Linked DNA regions of Homo sapiens: region 1 is linked to region 2. The links are contacts of gene promoters, found by promoter capture Hi-C in human tissues and cell types (Jung and others, 2019). All regions are on one chromosome and are shown on one strand. Each heading gives the region's core, a stretch centred on a gene start or on the middle of the fragment in contact. The rest is flanking DNA. Distances are from core to core; before and after follow the strand shown.

The links. The method cuts DNA at HindIII sites, captures the fragments that hold promoters and counts their contacts. A contact is called where the count stands out against the background at its distance.
Region 1: a fragment that was not itself captured here is called in contact with the fragment with the promoter of NCOR2 in region 2 in 2 of the 25 tissues and cell types used here (H1 embryonic stem cells and dorsolateral prefrontal cortex).

What each region holds. Positions count from the first base shown.
Region 1 is chr12:124,435,959-124,442,957 of GRCh38, reverse strand. It overlaps NCOR2 (nuclear receptor corepressor 2), which reads left to right. Exons shown (of 49, transcript NM_006312.6): 10 at 4,962-5,028. Among named protein-coding and RNA genes, the nearest start is that of MIR6880, 100 kb to the right of the region's middle. RefSeq lists enhancers at 2,057-2,777, 2,778-3,497, 4,372-4,471. The HindIII fragment of the contact is 9,749 bases long and covers 1-6,999 here.
Region 2 is chr12:124,563,285-124,570,230 of GRCh38, reverse strand. NCOR2 (nuclear receptor corepressor 2) reads left to right here and starts at 2,619. Exons shown (of 49, transcript NM_006312.6): 1 at 2,619-2,923. RefSeq lists enhancers at 306-1,166, 1,167-2,027, 2,194-2,243 and silencers at 2,364-2,613, 2,724-3,083, 3,104-3,213, 3,354-3,573, 3,774-3,873. The HindIII fragment of the contact is 12,918 bases long and covers 1-6,946 here.

The DNA of each region.
Region 1 (6,999 bases), core at 2,398-4,897, 130 kb after region 2:
AGATGCGTCACTCCCGTCTTTTGTATTCGTGTGGTGTTCTTCCCGTGTCTGTTCGCGTCATCTCCCCTCCGTGTGTGTCTGTCTTTTTGTCCAAATTTCCCCTTTTCATAAGTCATTGGATTAGGGCCCACCCCAGTAACCTCATTCTAACTTGCTTCTCGCTCTAAAGACTCTGTTTCCAAATGAGGTCATGTTTTGAGGTGCTGGGGCTTAGGACTTTACACATATCAGTTTTTTTGTAGTTGGGGTTGGGGGTGACATTCCCACCTGTACTAGGCAGTGTACCACCTGCAAACCCCAAAGTCAATTTTGTATGGTCTTCACCACGGTGTTTCAAAGTGGATTCTATCTCTCTTCTTTTGTGAGAAGGTGGAACTATTTATTTTGAAGTAACTAGATTGTACGTTGTGCAACAGAAGAGTTGCAAATACGCTCCACAGAGTTCCCCCACACACGTCACCTGGCACCCCTCATGTGGACAGCTTATATAACAGCAGAGAAACACTTACCACAACTAGGGCCTGCCATGGTGGCCCACGCCTGTCATCCCAGCACTTTGGGAGGCCAAGGTGGGAGGATCACTTGAGGCTAGGAGTTGGAGACGAGCTGGGCAACAAAGCAAGACCTCATCTCTACCAAAAAATAAATTAGCCAAGTATGGTGGCATGTACCTGTAGTTCCAGCTACTCAGGAGGCTGAGGCAGGAGGATTGCTTGAGCCCAGGAGTTCAAGGATGCAGTGAGCCATGATCGAGCCACTGCACTCCCGCCTGGGAGACAGAGTAAGACCCTGTCTCTAAAAACAAAAATCAAAACAAAACAAAACAAAATACTAAGAAAGAAATAGTGGCACATGACCCTCTGCTAAACTACCAGCTGTCTTTGCATTTTCACCCGTCTCTCCGCCAACGTCTGTTTTCTGGTCCAGGATCTGATTCAGGTTCTCACGTGACATTTGTGCTCGTGTCTCTTTAGTCTCCAGCCCGTGACGGCTTCTCAGCCTTGCCTTGTTTTTCACCACCCCAGCACTTTTGAAGATCACTGGTCATGGCTTTCTTTGACAGGTGTTTCCTCCTGGTAAGACTGGGATGGTGGGTTTTGGGGAAGACCAGAGAGAGGTAAGGGGGCTGCGTGATGCCCACATGATAGGGGGCTCTGCCCTAGGTCTCCGCTGTCGCCTTAGAGTTATCCCTCCTTTGCTCTGTTCTTTACTAGGGAGTCACCAAGTCCCACCCATCTTCCAGGGCAGGGGAGTTAAGCTCCGCCTCCTGGAGGGAGGAATATAGATTTGTGGAGCCACCGCCATGATTCATACATACTTGCGGGGAGATTCTTTGAGACTGTGCAAATTTCCTGTTGCTCCTTAAAATTTTGCCAACCAATTTAGCATTCATCCCCGGATCTTGCCAGCGGTGGTTGGGTTATTACTGCGTTCTAATGACGATTTTCTGTTTCCCTCCTCTCTTGGACATTTATTCATTGGAACTCTAGAAGAAAGATCTGTCCCTTCTCCTCCATGTATTGATGTATTGAATCATTTGTTTGTAATCACATGGACTCGTGGGGATTTGTTTTATTCCTGGGACGCTAATCTAGTCCCAGGGTTATTTCTGTTGTCACTCACATTGTTCCAGCTCTGGCAGCCGGAAACCTTCAGGCTGGGTTCTGTGTCCTTTTGACTTTTGTTTTCTTTTGTTTTTGGCAATTCTTGACTTAAAGTCACTCTGGGCTCTTCTTGCATACTTCCTGGCCGAGCGCTGGAATCAGCCATGGCCCGGGCAGCGCGGTTTCTGGGATTGGAGGATGGTCTTTGCTGAGATATGGGTGCTGCTGTGCTCATGGCGCCTGGGCCTTCACTGCTTCTAGGCCTTCACAGCTGTCTTTTGCATAAAAGACCAAACCCTTTGCCATGTCGAAACTCACAGGACCCTGCAGGACTGGCCCTGCCAGTCTTGCTCACAGCCCCTCCTCCGTCCTCTCTGCCCCTCCCCAGCACTGTCCAGCCACAGGGCCTTCCTCTGTCTGTGCTTCCGATACACAGAGTTTGTTCCTGTCTCCTGCGGTGCCCTCCAGCTGGAGTTCCCTTCCTTCTGGATCTTCCCAGAGCCGGGTCCTTCTGATGACGTAGATCCCAGCTCAAGGCCATCCTCTCTGGGAGATCTTTCTGCACCACGGAATCTAAAATAGCCCCTCACACCCCGTCCCCCAGCACCCACTAGCCCACCATTCCATTTAAGTTCCCAAATCCAGGATTATCTTGGTCATCTTGCTTATTGTCAGTGTCACCTCTGTGAGAGCCCTCAACTGTGTCTTGCTCCCTGCTGTGTCCCCAGCACCTGGAACAGTGCCTGGCACATAGTAGATGCTCAGTAAACAGTTATTGAATAACAGAAGATGAGGCTGCGATGCCATAGATTTCAGATGAGGAAACTGAGGGCTTCTGAGGTGTGCTCAGAGACACCCTGTTATGAGATGAAGGGTGCTGGTCCTAGCCTGTGGGACTGAGGACCCCCATGGCCCACCCTGGCCGGGGGGCGGCGGCCAGACTGATGGAAGGTGGGGAGGCCCTGGCCAAGTCACCACCAGAATGACCCGGGGACTGAGGTGGATTCCAGGCCCTTGAGCCCCATGAGGCTTCACTCGTCCGTCAGAGCCTGGGGTTCCCTCCTTTTCCTGTTTCCAATGGGGCTGGGGTCCCGGGGGCTGGACATAGCGTGGCTCCCAGTCAGTAGCTTTGGAACTTTTGAGGGGGTTTGGACACTGCTGAGAATATGAAAAAGTTGGGGATCCCCTCCCCAGAAAAGCGGGTGCCACTGAATGCCGCGGATTGGGGACAGACAGCAAGTTAAGGTGCACAGCAGGCTCCTGAGGTCGCTGTGGCCCCCCAGGCCCTGGGAGGCCAGCTGCAGCACCCTGCTTTGTGTGTTGGAGACCGTGGGGAGGGGCCTGGGAAGAGAAGAGGACGGTCCTGGGGTCTCGGTGCAGCAGTGGGTGGGGGTGTCTTCCAGCCCTCATGGCGTGGGCTCCAGAACCTCCCGCCTCTACTCTCCAGGGCTCCCTCCCTTTGCCTGTCTCAGGGTCCCTGTCCCCTTTCTTCGGGTCTTGTCTCTTTCCCTCTCCCCACTTCTCTCTCTTTCCCTCTCCTAGTTTCATCTTCCTCTGAGTCTCTGTCCCCTTCCTTTGGATCTTGTCTCTCTGTGACTGCCTCTCTCTCTCTCTCTGATCCTCTCTTTCTCATCTCTCTCACTCCAGTCTCACCTCTCAGTCTCATCTCCTGTCCATCTCCAGGTCTCTGTCCTTTCTTGGATCTCATCTGTCTATCTATCTCCGTCTCTGTGTCTCCCCTTCTCCCAGTCTCTGTCTCTTTCTCACCTCTGTCTCCCTGTCTGTCTCCCTCTCTCTGGGTCCCTGTTTCCCTCTCTGGGTCTCTGTCTCCGTCTCTCTCTCTCTGGGTCTCTGTTTCCCTCTTTCTCTGGGTCTCTGTCTCCCTCTCTCTGGGTCCCTGTTTCCCTCTCTGGGTCTCTGTCTCTCTCTCTCTCTCTCTGGGTCTCTGTCTCCCTCTGTCTCTGGGTCTCTGTCTCCCTCTGTCTCCGGGTCTCTGTCTCCCTCTCTCTCTGGGTCTCTGTCTCTCCCTCTGTCTCTGGGTCTCTGTCTCTCTCTCTCTGGGTCTCTCTCTCCCTCTGTCTCAGGGTCTCCATCTCTCTCTCTCTGGGTCTCTGTCTCCCTCTGTCTCTGGGTCTCTGTCTCCCTCTGTCTCTGGGTCTCCGTCTCTCTCTCTCTGGGTCTCTGTTTCCCTCTCTCTGGGTTTCTGTCTCCCTCTGTCTCTGGGTCTCTGTCTCTGGGTCTCTGTCTCTCCCTCTGTCTCTGGGTCTCTGTTTCTCTCTCTGGGTCTCTGTCTCCCTCTGTCTCAGGGTCTCCATCTCTCTCTCTCTGGGTCTCTGTCTCCCTCTGTCTCAGGGTCTCCATCTCTCTCTCTCTGGGTCTCTGTCTCCCTCTGTCTCTGGGTCTCTCTCTCCCTCTGTCTCTGGGTCTCCGTCTCTCTCTCTCTGGGTCTCTGTCTCCCTCTCTCTGGGTCTCTGTCTTCCTCTGTCTCTGGGTCTCTGTCTCCCTCTGTCTCTGGGTCTCTGTCTCCCTCTCTCTGGGTCTCCGTCTCTCTCTCTCTCTCTCTCTCTCTCTCTCTGTCTCTCTGGGTCTCTGTCTCTCTCTCTCTCTCTGGTTCTCTGTTTCCCTGTCTCTCTGGGTCTCTGTCTCCCTCTCTTTCTGGGTCTCTGTCTCCCTCTCTCTCTCTGAAACTCCCGTCTCCCAGGACGTGCCTCCTTCTCTTGGAGCCTGCAGTGGTGTGTGTAACCTGCTTGGTTGAGACCCCATGGGCCCTGCCCTGAAGTCTGAGACCGCCCCCGCCCGGGGGTTTCCTGAAGTCCATGCCTGGTGGCCCCACCAGCTGCCCCACACTGCTTGTGTCCCTCCCCCCGCAGCAGGACTGGGTGTGCTGGAGGTCCATGCACAGCACCTGGTTGGAGCCAATCCTGGGGCCACACAGGCCACACTCTGACACCCGGCCTGTGGGCGGCAGCAGGTCTCGGGGTCTCGGGCTCTGTGGCCTGTATTCCTAGTTGGAGGCTGTGGCTGTTTCTCCGTGGCCATCTTTCCGTGGGCAGATGTGGCTGCCGGGGTGCATGTGGGCGGGGGCGGGAAGCCACAGGCCCCTCGGCTCTGGGAACCCTCTTGCCTGCACACTGGGCTCAACCTAAACGTTGGCGGGGGCTGCCTCGCGCGCGGGGGAGTAAGGATGCACGTTGGCAGCTCACAGGTCTCTCTGGGGATACAGCACGGGTGGGTCTCATCTCCCTGAGAACCAATAACGGGGCAAATTTGGGGCTCACTCTCAGCAAACAGGATGGCACGGGGTGCAGCGCCTGAGCCCGGCCGGGCTGACCTGTCTGCCGCTTCCCTCCTGCACAGAAACCAGGCGATGCGGAAGAAGCTAATCTTGTACTTCAAGAGGAGGAATCACGCTCGGAAACAATGGGTAAGTCCACACCGTGGCCCCCATCAGCTTTCCTTGAGATCTGGGGAGAATCGAGCGCACAGGGGGCCACACCTGCCGGGGCCCTGTCAGTTCCGCAGCTGTGTCCTCCCTGAGTGTCCAGGCTGCGGAGGAAAAGCCAAGGCCGGCCAGGAAAGGAGGAAAGACAACAGCTGCTTCCAGAAGGCCCCAGGGTGGGTGGGGGTGGGGGGGCTCTATGGCCCCTCTTCCAGCCTGGAAGGGAAGAAAGCAAAATGTTGGCCTGGAAAATTAGTTGCTAAGCCCTGGTCACGGGACCTGTCCTGGGCTTTTCAGGCAGAAAGAGAGGTTTTGGAGAGAGGTGGAGGATCAGGGTGGGCTGTGTGCCGGGCAGCAGGGGCCGCAGGCGCACCCTTACAAATGAGCCTTTCCTGGTGCACTGGGCCCAGGTCCAGGCTCAGGGAAACTGAGACAGTGGACAAGCATTGAGCCCCCTTTCCCTGAGCCTGCATTTGTGGCCAGTGGCCTCATCCAAACAGAAAAGGATGCTGATTCCTGCTTCTCACTGTAGGCTGTGGATCTCAGCCCACGGCGGGGAGGCTGGGTCTGCCAGAGGCATGTGGTGGTGGTTTCAGGCGGCCGTGGCCATCACCCATTCCCCGGAGGAGATCAGGGTTGAGTATTCTCCCAGCTGTCAGGGGAAGAAGCGCGGACTCAGATGGGCTTCAACAGGAAAGGAATGGCTGTAGCTGGAAATGTCTGTTGGGTGTAGATGGCAGGAATAGTCTTTCAACTCAAGTCTTGCCTTCATTTCATTTCATTACATTTCATTTCATTTTATTTGTTTATTTATTTATTATTTATTTTTGAGATGGAGTTTCGCTCTGTCACCCAGGTTGGAGTGCAGTGGCAGGGTCTCTACTCACTGCAGCCTCCGCCTCTCGGGTTCAAGCAATTCTCCTGCCTCAGCCTCCCAAGTAGCTGGGATTACAGGCGCCCGCCACCAAGCCCGGCTAATTTTTGTATTTTTAGTAGAGAAGGTTTCACTCCATTGACCAGGCTGGTCTTGAACTCCCGACCTCAGGTGATGCACCCGCCTCGGCCTCCCAAAGCGCTGGGATCACAGGTGTGAGCACTGCACCCAGCCCCTTCATTCCTGTGCAGTTTTTTCAACTCCTTATGTTAGAACATTGACAAACTGAACCTGAATTCCCATAGCAGGTGGGAGCCGGAGAGAGCTGTGCTTTCTCGGATGGTATCACAGATGCTCTGATTAGGCCAGGAGAGGGCCTGCGTCCTGTGAACCAGTGGCTGATGCCGGGGAGATGGAGTGAGGCTGCCTGGTTTTGGCTCATGGGACTTTCTCTACAGTTGGGGATGATGTCATTGACTCCACCCAAGCCACGGGGCTGCTGGGACATGGTAGGGAATGGGATAAGGCTGGGGAGGCCCTGAAAAGGTCCCCACCTGGGGAAGAGGCGGGCTGGATGGGGACTGCTGCCTTGGGATTCTTGGATAAGAGACGCGGCAAGGGCTGGGAACTAGGTTTGCTGGAGGCTGGAGGGGCTCCCCTCATACCTGCAGCCCCCTGCCCCACCTCCTCTCTCCCTCAGCTGTGTTGAGGCAGGGCCTGCGAGGCAGCTCCCTGTATCCTTTCTGGGCCTCCAGAGAGGCCCTCCCAGGCGCAGGCCTGGCTCAGTCATGCCCAGCGCCTGTAGGTCTGTGGTACACAGTAGGTGATGACCAAGTCCTGCTTGAACTGAAATGGGCCGGGACAGGGTGTTAGCTGATCCAGTGCCTTTGGGGCCTGGATGCCAGTAGTCACGGAGCACCTACTGTGTGTGAGGCTCGCAGTTGCTGTGACACGGGCCCTGTCCTCAGACCTGCAGGCTGCAGGGACAGGTCGTGCGTAAGGACGAGGAGGATGCCCGCACACCCTGCCCTTCCGGTGCCTGTTGTGTTGCAGGCGCTCTTCTGAGTGCTCTCCATACATTA
Region 2 (6,946 bases), core at 1,370-3,869:
GGCAGAAATTGGCGCCAACTGGACGGGAGCCCCCTGGATATATATACAGCATGCTCCAGCCAGCTGCAGCCTGGCCTGGGACACATACAACATGCTTCCCAGTGTCCCTGGTGACTTCCCAACTGAGTCTCCCTCTCCCTTCCTGTAAAATGGGTATGTTGAAAGTCTTTCCCTCACAAAGGCAATTGAGATGTTTGGGAAGCTCTTAGCTGTTACTGTTACTAACTCACAGTCCAGGGGGCCCCCCCGGGAAGGCTGTTTGTGTGCAGTGTTCTTTGGCCGCTTTTTAAAGGTACTGTTCCCATTAGTTGCTCATGGACTGTCACTCAGAGCCCAGTAGAAACAAAGTAGCAAACTAGGGTGCCGGTCTGCGATTGGGGGAAGGGGCGGGCTCAGCTGAGACCTCCCCAGAGTCCAGATTTCCAGCACTCATTTGGAATCACGGGCTGCTGCTGGAGGCTGGCAAGTCGGGTTCTTCATCTCTCCAGGCCTGTTTCCCTACTTGGGACCAGGCCCCTTGCTTCCCCCAGGGTAAGTGCTCACTCAGTGCTGGTGTTACTCCCCGCCGTCTGTGAGGGTGAGATTAATAACCCAATTCAGCCAGGAAACAGGAGCAGACGGGAAAGGGCCAATCCCTTTCGGGATAAACGCTGCCCTTCTCCTGGCCTCAGTCTTGCCATCTGTGACATGGTCGGGCCAGAGGCCATTGGCGCTTGAGTTGATAAGGCTTCCAGTGAGGGATTTCTAGGTGACGCTTGGGACATTACAAAGCTGACAGACCCCCTGCTTTCCCCGCTCCTAAGCCTGCAGGGAGCCCTCGAGGGCAGAAGCTGGGAGACCCCTGAAGACACCCCAAATGTCCCTCCTCCAGCTTCAAATAGAGCTGAATCTCATGGAAATGCAAATTCCCAGAGGGTTTTCAGGTGACAGAGGAGGGCTGCCAGGCGGCCTGGGGCTGGCAGAGGAGCTCCCCCGCCCCCGCTTCCCTCTCCAAGACCCTTGGTGGGGGAGGTGGGGGATCAGGCCTTCCTTCTGCGGCTCCAGCTTTTTGCCTGTGGATTCGGACCGACTGGCTGGGCAGAACTGGAGCTGGTCGGGCCAAAACAAGGAGGTGGGGGGGGGGCACTGACCTATGACCCCTCCTGTTTCAGTCTGCAAACTGCTCCCCTCCACACCCACTTCCCTTTTGCCAGACATTGTCAGCCCCAGAGGCTCCCGCCAGCCCCCCAAAAGCTCATAATTAAAAGCCCGAGGGGGCAGAGAAGGACCTGGCTGCAGGGGAGCCCGGCAAACCCAGCATCCTGGCGGAGGCGGGAGGCCCGCCGGCCTCTGGAAACCACGCGGCTGCCTCCCCACCGCAGCCATTCCCCGCTCTCCCTGGGGGTTCTCAGATGTTGCCAGATGGCAGAACTGAATCTGCTGAGACGTCACTCCAAAAAAGGAAAGTTGAACTGAAAAAAAAAAAAAAAATTCAAACTCTCCAACATCTTAGGAGAAAGCAGAAGAGGAGGGAGGGAGGGAGGCTCCAGGCCCAGGGCTCCCAGTGCCCTCTGCTGTTCAAAGAGATCTGCCCTGGTTGGAGAGGGCAAACCTGGAGGGGGTGGGAGGAGGGGGTAAATGAGGACACTGGGTTGTCAGGGCGGCCAGGGGGGCCAGGTTCCTGCTGGAGCGGAGAGTGTCTGCCTGTGCGTGGGGGAGCGAGCACATGTGTGCCGTCTGTGACTGCGTGCTTGTGCAGGCCGGGCGTGTGTGGCTCCCAGGGTCACGCTTTGGGATGTGTGTGTCTGTGTGTGTGTGTGGGGGGGGCGGGGGGGACACAGGCTCGTTGCATTGTCTCCGCATTTGTGTCCCTGAATGTCCCCAAGTGGGACTTCACTCAACACATTCGTGAGTCCCTACTGCGATAGGGCAGTGAACAAAATAGAAATCTCTGCCCTCAGGAAACTGGCATTCTAGCGTCTGTGTCCTCCGGGGTGCTGTGAACTCGCGTGGGTGTCCCAGTATTTGTCTGTGTGAGATCTGACATCTCCGGTCCGTGGTGGGTGGTGAGTCTGCAGTGTGTTCGCCCGGGCTGGGTCTCGGGTCTGGGGAGGCCCAGCGTGTTCCTGCCTGGAGAGGGCTCTGCGCTACTGTCTGCTCCCGTCCCCAAGTGCCCCACTGGGCGTGCTCCTAAAAGGCCCTGTGTAGGGCCCTCCCTGCGCGCCCCCTCCCCATCCAGCGGCCACTCCAGAGTTATAATTTAATAGCTGAAACGCGATTCCAGTGAGGTACTGGGGCTGGAGAGGAGGAGGAGGGCCCCCGGGCCCGCAGGAGAAGAGGGAGGGGAAGGCTGGGAGGCGCTTCCCCCCTCCTTCCTCCTCGGGGAGCTGCCAAAAAGAAACTCGGCGTCGCGCCCAAGTGTGTGCGTGCGTGTCTGTGTGTGTGGCGGCGTGCGCGCGCGAGTGGGGACGCGCAGGGCCTGGAGAGAAGGCGCGGGCCCTTTAAGGAGCCAGAGGGGGCCGGGCCGGGGCGCGTCGCTGCGGGCGGGGAGCCGGGAGCAGGGAGGCCGAGCCACCGCCTCCCGGGCTCGCGCCCCGCCCCCTCCTCCCCCTCCCGCCGCCGCCGCCGCCGCCGCCGCCGCCACCGCCGCCGCGGCCGCCGGGGAGCGCGGAGCCGCGGGCAGGCCGGGCCGCACCGGAGCCCCGCGTCCGCCGGCGCCCCGCCCGAGCCCTGCGCCCGCGCCCTGCGCTCCGCGATGCGCGCCAACTTGCGGGCCGGGGACCCAGGGCCGGCGCCCTAGGAGGCGGCGGCGGGAGGATCGCGTCCCGACCCGAGGCCGGGCCTGCTGCGCGCCCCCAGCCCGATCGGCACCGCCACTTGCCTGAGCGCCCCGGCGGCCCGAGCGCGCCCCAAGCCCGGGCGCCACCGCTGCCACCTCCGCGAGGTGAGTTGGGGCCGAGGGTCCCCGCGAAGGGCGGGGGGAGGCGCGGAGCGCGCTTCCGGGGGATCCGGGGAGGATCGGGCGGCGCACGCGGCGGAGTTGGCGGGGCCCCTGCACTCCCGAGTTGGCGCTCTCGGGGGGTGGCCTGCTGGGGAGCAAGGCGCCCCGCCGACACTGCGGCCCGCGTGCTCGGGGGCGCCGGGGAACTTAGGGGAACTCCAGCTCCCTAGCGAGGGGGCGGGAAGGAGGGAAGTGGCGTTGGGGTGGGCGGGGGGCGCGCTGGAAATGCACAGAGCGGCCCCCCACAGTGTGCGCCGGCTCTGGGGACTTGGCCGCCAGGCGTCCCTTGTACCCGGTGTAGCCCCGGACCTGGCGGGGCGACACTGCGCCTTATTTTCCATCGGGCAGCGCGGGTTTGAAAGCCCTTGGAGATGGTACCCCTAGCTCCCTGGCCTGGCTGTTGTGGAGGGGCGCATGAGGGTCTCTCACCAGCCGAGGGGGAGAGCCAGCCTTGTCCCTCCTAGGCGTGGGGCCACGGGGCGCTGGGCGGGGTCCCTCGGGAGAGTCGCCCCTGGTCCCCCTCCCCCGCGGGCCGGTGTTCCTGGTGTCTGGGCCTGCCTCCCGTGGCTGGTGACGCCTCATTGGGCCGCCTCCTAGTCCCTCCCCCGGGCTGTGCGGATACTTGGGATGCCACTACTTTGCGAAGTTGGAATTCAGAGCTGATCCCACTTGGGCACGACTGGGAAGACCCAGACCCTTGTCTAGAGGGCAGCTTCCTCAGAGGCCTGCGGGGAGTGAGGGCACCCGTGGGGTACGCCCTCCCCGCCCCAGACACTTGCAGGAGGAGCAAGCCGAGGGCGGGAGGGCACGGCGGGCGGGAGGGAGAGACAGGCTGTACCTGGGAGCTGCTGTCGCCCGGGCCCAATTAGCGTGGGGCGCCCGGCGTTATTTTTACATTGTAGGTTTATTTTTTTGGAAGCGAGTGTCCTCCCGCCGCCTGTCGCGCGCTCCGGCTCTCCGAGGGTCTGGTGCAGGCAGCGGGGGCGGATCTGTTCTGTCGGCTCAGCCTCCTCCCTTCCTCCCCCTCCTCCTCTCCCCCGTTGGTGAGAACTGGTTTTATTGTGATTATTATTATTTTTCCCTTTTTGCAGATTTGGAGGAAGGATGTGTGAGGGAGGGAAGAGGGGAGGAGGGGATAAGGGGAGGACCCTGTGGGCGGGGTGGGGGAGTTCTGGGCGCGTTGGGATGTGTTACCGGTGGCCTTGACTTTGCCCCTTTTCAGCCAGATCTGGGTCCTTGCGGCAGCTTTGATATAAGGGGCTCTCCGGGCCAGACTGCGCCGGGAGGGCGACCCGGGGCAGGCTGTGTACCTCGTGGGTGGCCTCTTTGGGGGTGCTGAGGAGGGGCCGAGAAATGGCAAGCAGCAGTGAGGTGGGATGGCCCACTCTGCACCTCAGCTCCTGGGGTTTGACTCTGACCTTTGCCACTTTCCTGGCAGTGTGACCCTGGACAGATGCTTAACTTCTCTGTGCCTGTCAGGTTTCCCATCTGCAAAATGAGGGTCAAAATGGTACTGAGTTCACAGAGTGGTTGTGAGAGCTGACCGTCCGGCCATAAGAATCCCTTGGTACTTGTATGTGTTACTATGACTACTGTGTCGGTATTATTATTCCTGGGTTCTAAGATTGGGCCTTTAATCCAACGTGGTCTGGAAGCCCTGTGAAAAGGGGCCACCTTACCTTTGGCTGGGGGTGGACAGTGGGGGGATCTGGGGGAGGGAGGGGGCCTTTTCCCACTCCCCTCTGCTTGTCCGGAGAGGATGGAGAAGGGCAGGTGCCCCCGCCCATTGAACAGATGCAAAGACTGAGTCAGGCCCAGCAGAGCAATGAAGGGGGGGTGGAGCCAGCGGTGACTGGCGAGTCGGCAGCGCGGCTGCCAGGGCATCCCGGGCTCTGTCTGGCTTCCCTGAGCCGCCTGCCGTGTCCCTGCTTGGAAATTCACTGCTGCCACCGCCAGCGGGTGCCGGGGGAGTCTGTGGTGCCGGTGCCCAGACATGGGGGCGGGAGCGCAGCAGGCCCCAGCCCTGGCCTCTTCCCACTGAGCTATTTACGCTGCTGGGGATCAATACTATTGATAAATCCATGTAAATGGTAATGTGGCTGTCAGGCCCTGGTGAGGGATGGAGACCCCTCCTGGGGCTGCGCTCTCCCCCTCCCCCTCTCGGAGAGGGTTTGGTTATGTGGGAAGGATTTATTTGGCATAATCTGTTCTTTTTCCCCAATTAATAATACTCATGCCACCTCCTAAAGATTTCCCAGAGCTCTGCAAACACGAATTTACTGCATGGAAGCCCTGGGCTGGGGACGGCTTGATTGTTCTCGGGGCCTGGGGGTGGGGGGCAGGGGGCGCTGGCAGCGCAGACACCCACCGAGGGAGTTGGAAGCTAGCCCCAGGAGTCCTGGCCCCCAGCGTCTGCCATTCATGCTGGATGTGGAGGCTGCCTGGCCCCGTTTCCCCCTGGCTGAGAGGGGGCGCATTCATAGTTCTGTGTTCCCAACCCCCATCTGAGAGTGTGGGTGGAGAAGTTGGTGCTTCACTCGGAGATGGGAGGCGGGGGTGGTACCTACGCAGAACCCAGCCGGAGGGTTCTCCTGGGGTCCTGTCTGTGGGAAGGGAGATTTTAAGGCAGAGGAGACAGGCTCTCAGCCCCTCCTCCTGCCGCTGTCTGAACTGAAAAGCCCCACAAATGCTGCCTCTGACCGTGGGCCGGGGGTGGGGGTGGGGGTGGGGTGGCGGGGGTTGAGAGCTTTTATTTGTGTGTGTGTGTTTTCCCTTCCCTGTTTCCTCTTCACATCTCAAACGCTAAACAGCAGCCTCCCCAGGTGACACTTTTGAGACTGGGGAACTGCCGGTGGGAGCTGGTAACTCCTGCCTGAGGTGCCCAGGGGAGGGGCAAGGAGGGCCCCAAGCTTGAGCTGCTGCCTGGGGAGAGCCAGGTTTTTTAGGCCCAGGCCAAGGGTGACAGAAGGTCTGTGTCCCTAGGTGGGTGCGTGTGGTCCCCAGGGAAGTGATGCTTGGGAAAGGCCAGCTGGGCATCTTTTGAGGGAGCTTGGAGCCAGGGAACTGACTTTACAACCCATCCGGCGAACTCTCAGCCTCCATGTTGGAAAAGGCTGTGGATCATACGCTAGTAATAAGAACCAACACCTACTGTGTGCCAGGAACCGTGCTCTACGCAAATCTGCTTGTTTACTCTTCATAACTCCTCTATGAGTTGGTGCTTTTATTATCTTATTTTATAGATGGTGAACTTGAGGCACAGAGAGGTTAAGTAACTTGCCCAAGGTCACACAGCTTGGATGTGGAACTACGAATTAAGACCTGGGATTATTCACGGTCGTGTTAGTGCAGCAGGAATTTACTGCAGACCTGCTTTGCAAAGCTGCCGTAGAGGATATGAAGAAAGAAATGATGTTTCTTCTTTGAGCAGCACCTACGGATCTTTGCCCCAGGTGGGGCAGGAGACTGAGAACTCGTTCTCCCCAGGGTTTGGGGAGAAGGATAGGGCCTGGCATTTCTTTGAGGTCTCATTTTATCTGAAACATTCATGCAAATTTGGCATTCGCCTTGGCGACACTGCTGTGTTTGTTTTGAAATGAAAACATGGTTTTGAATTATTTAGCATGGTGCTCCAGAAAGCTGCAGCGGCAGAGTTCTGTGGCCTGGAGTGCCCATAGGCTGGGCGCGTTGCCCTCGGGTACTGTGTAGCCGGAGGGCTTCTGCTCAGTGAGGCCCTGGGGCAGATGGCGGCTTCATTCCCATTTTACAGATGAGGGCACAGGTCCAGGCTCGCCTGAGGTTGCACAGCGGAGGGACCTGTGCTTATGATGAATGAACTTAGCATCATTGTTATTATCATGTCTATTTTGGAGCAGAGTGAGGCTTCTGAGCCTGGACACTTCCACACTGCCCTGCCCACTTGGCTCCAGCTAGCCTTGAGGAAGGAGCTTTTGGTTTATAAATCTA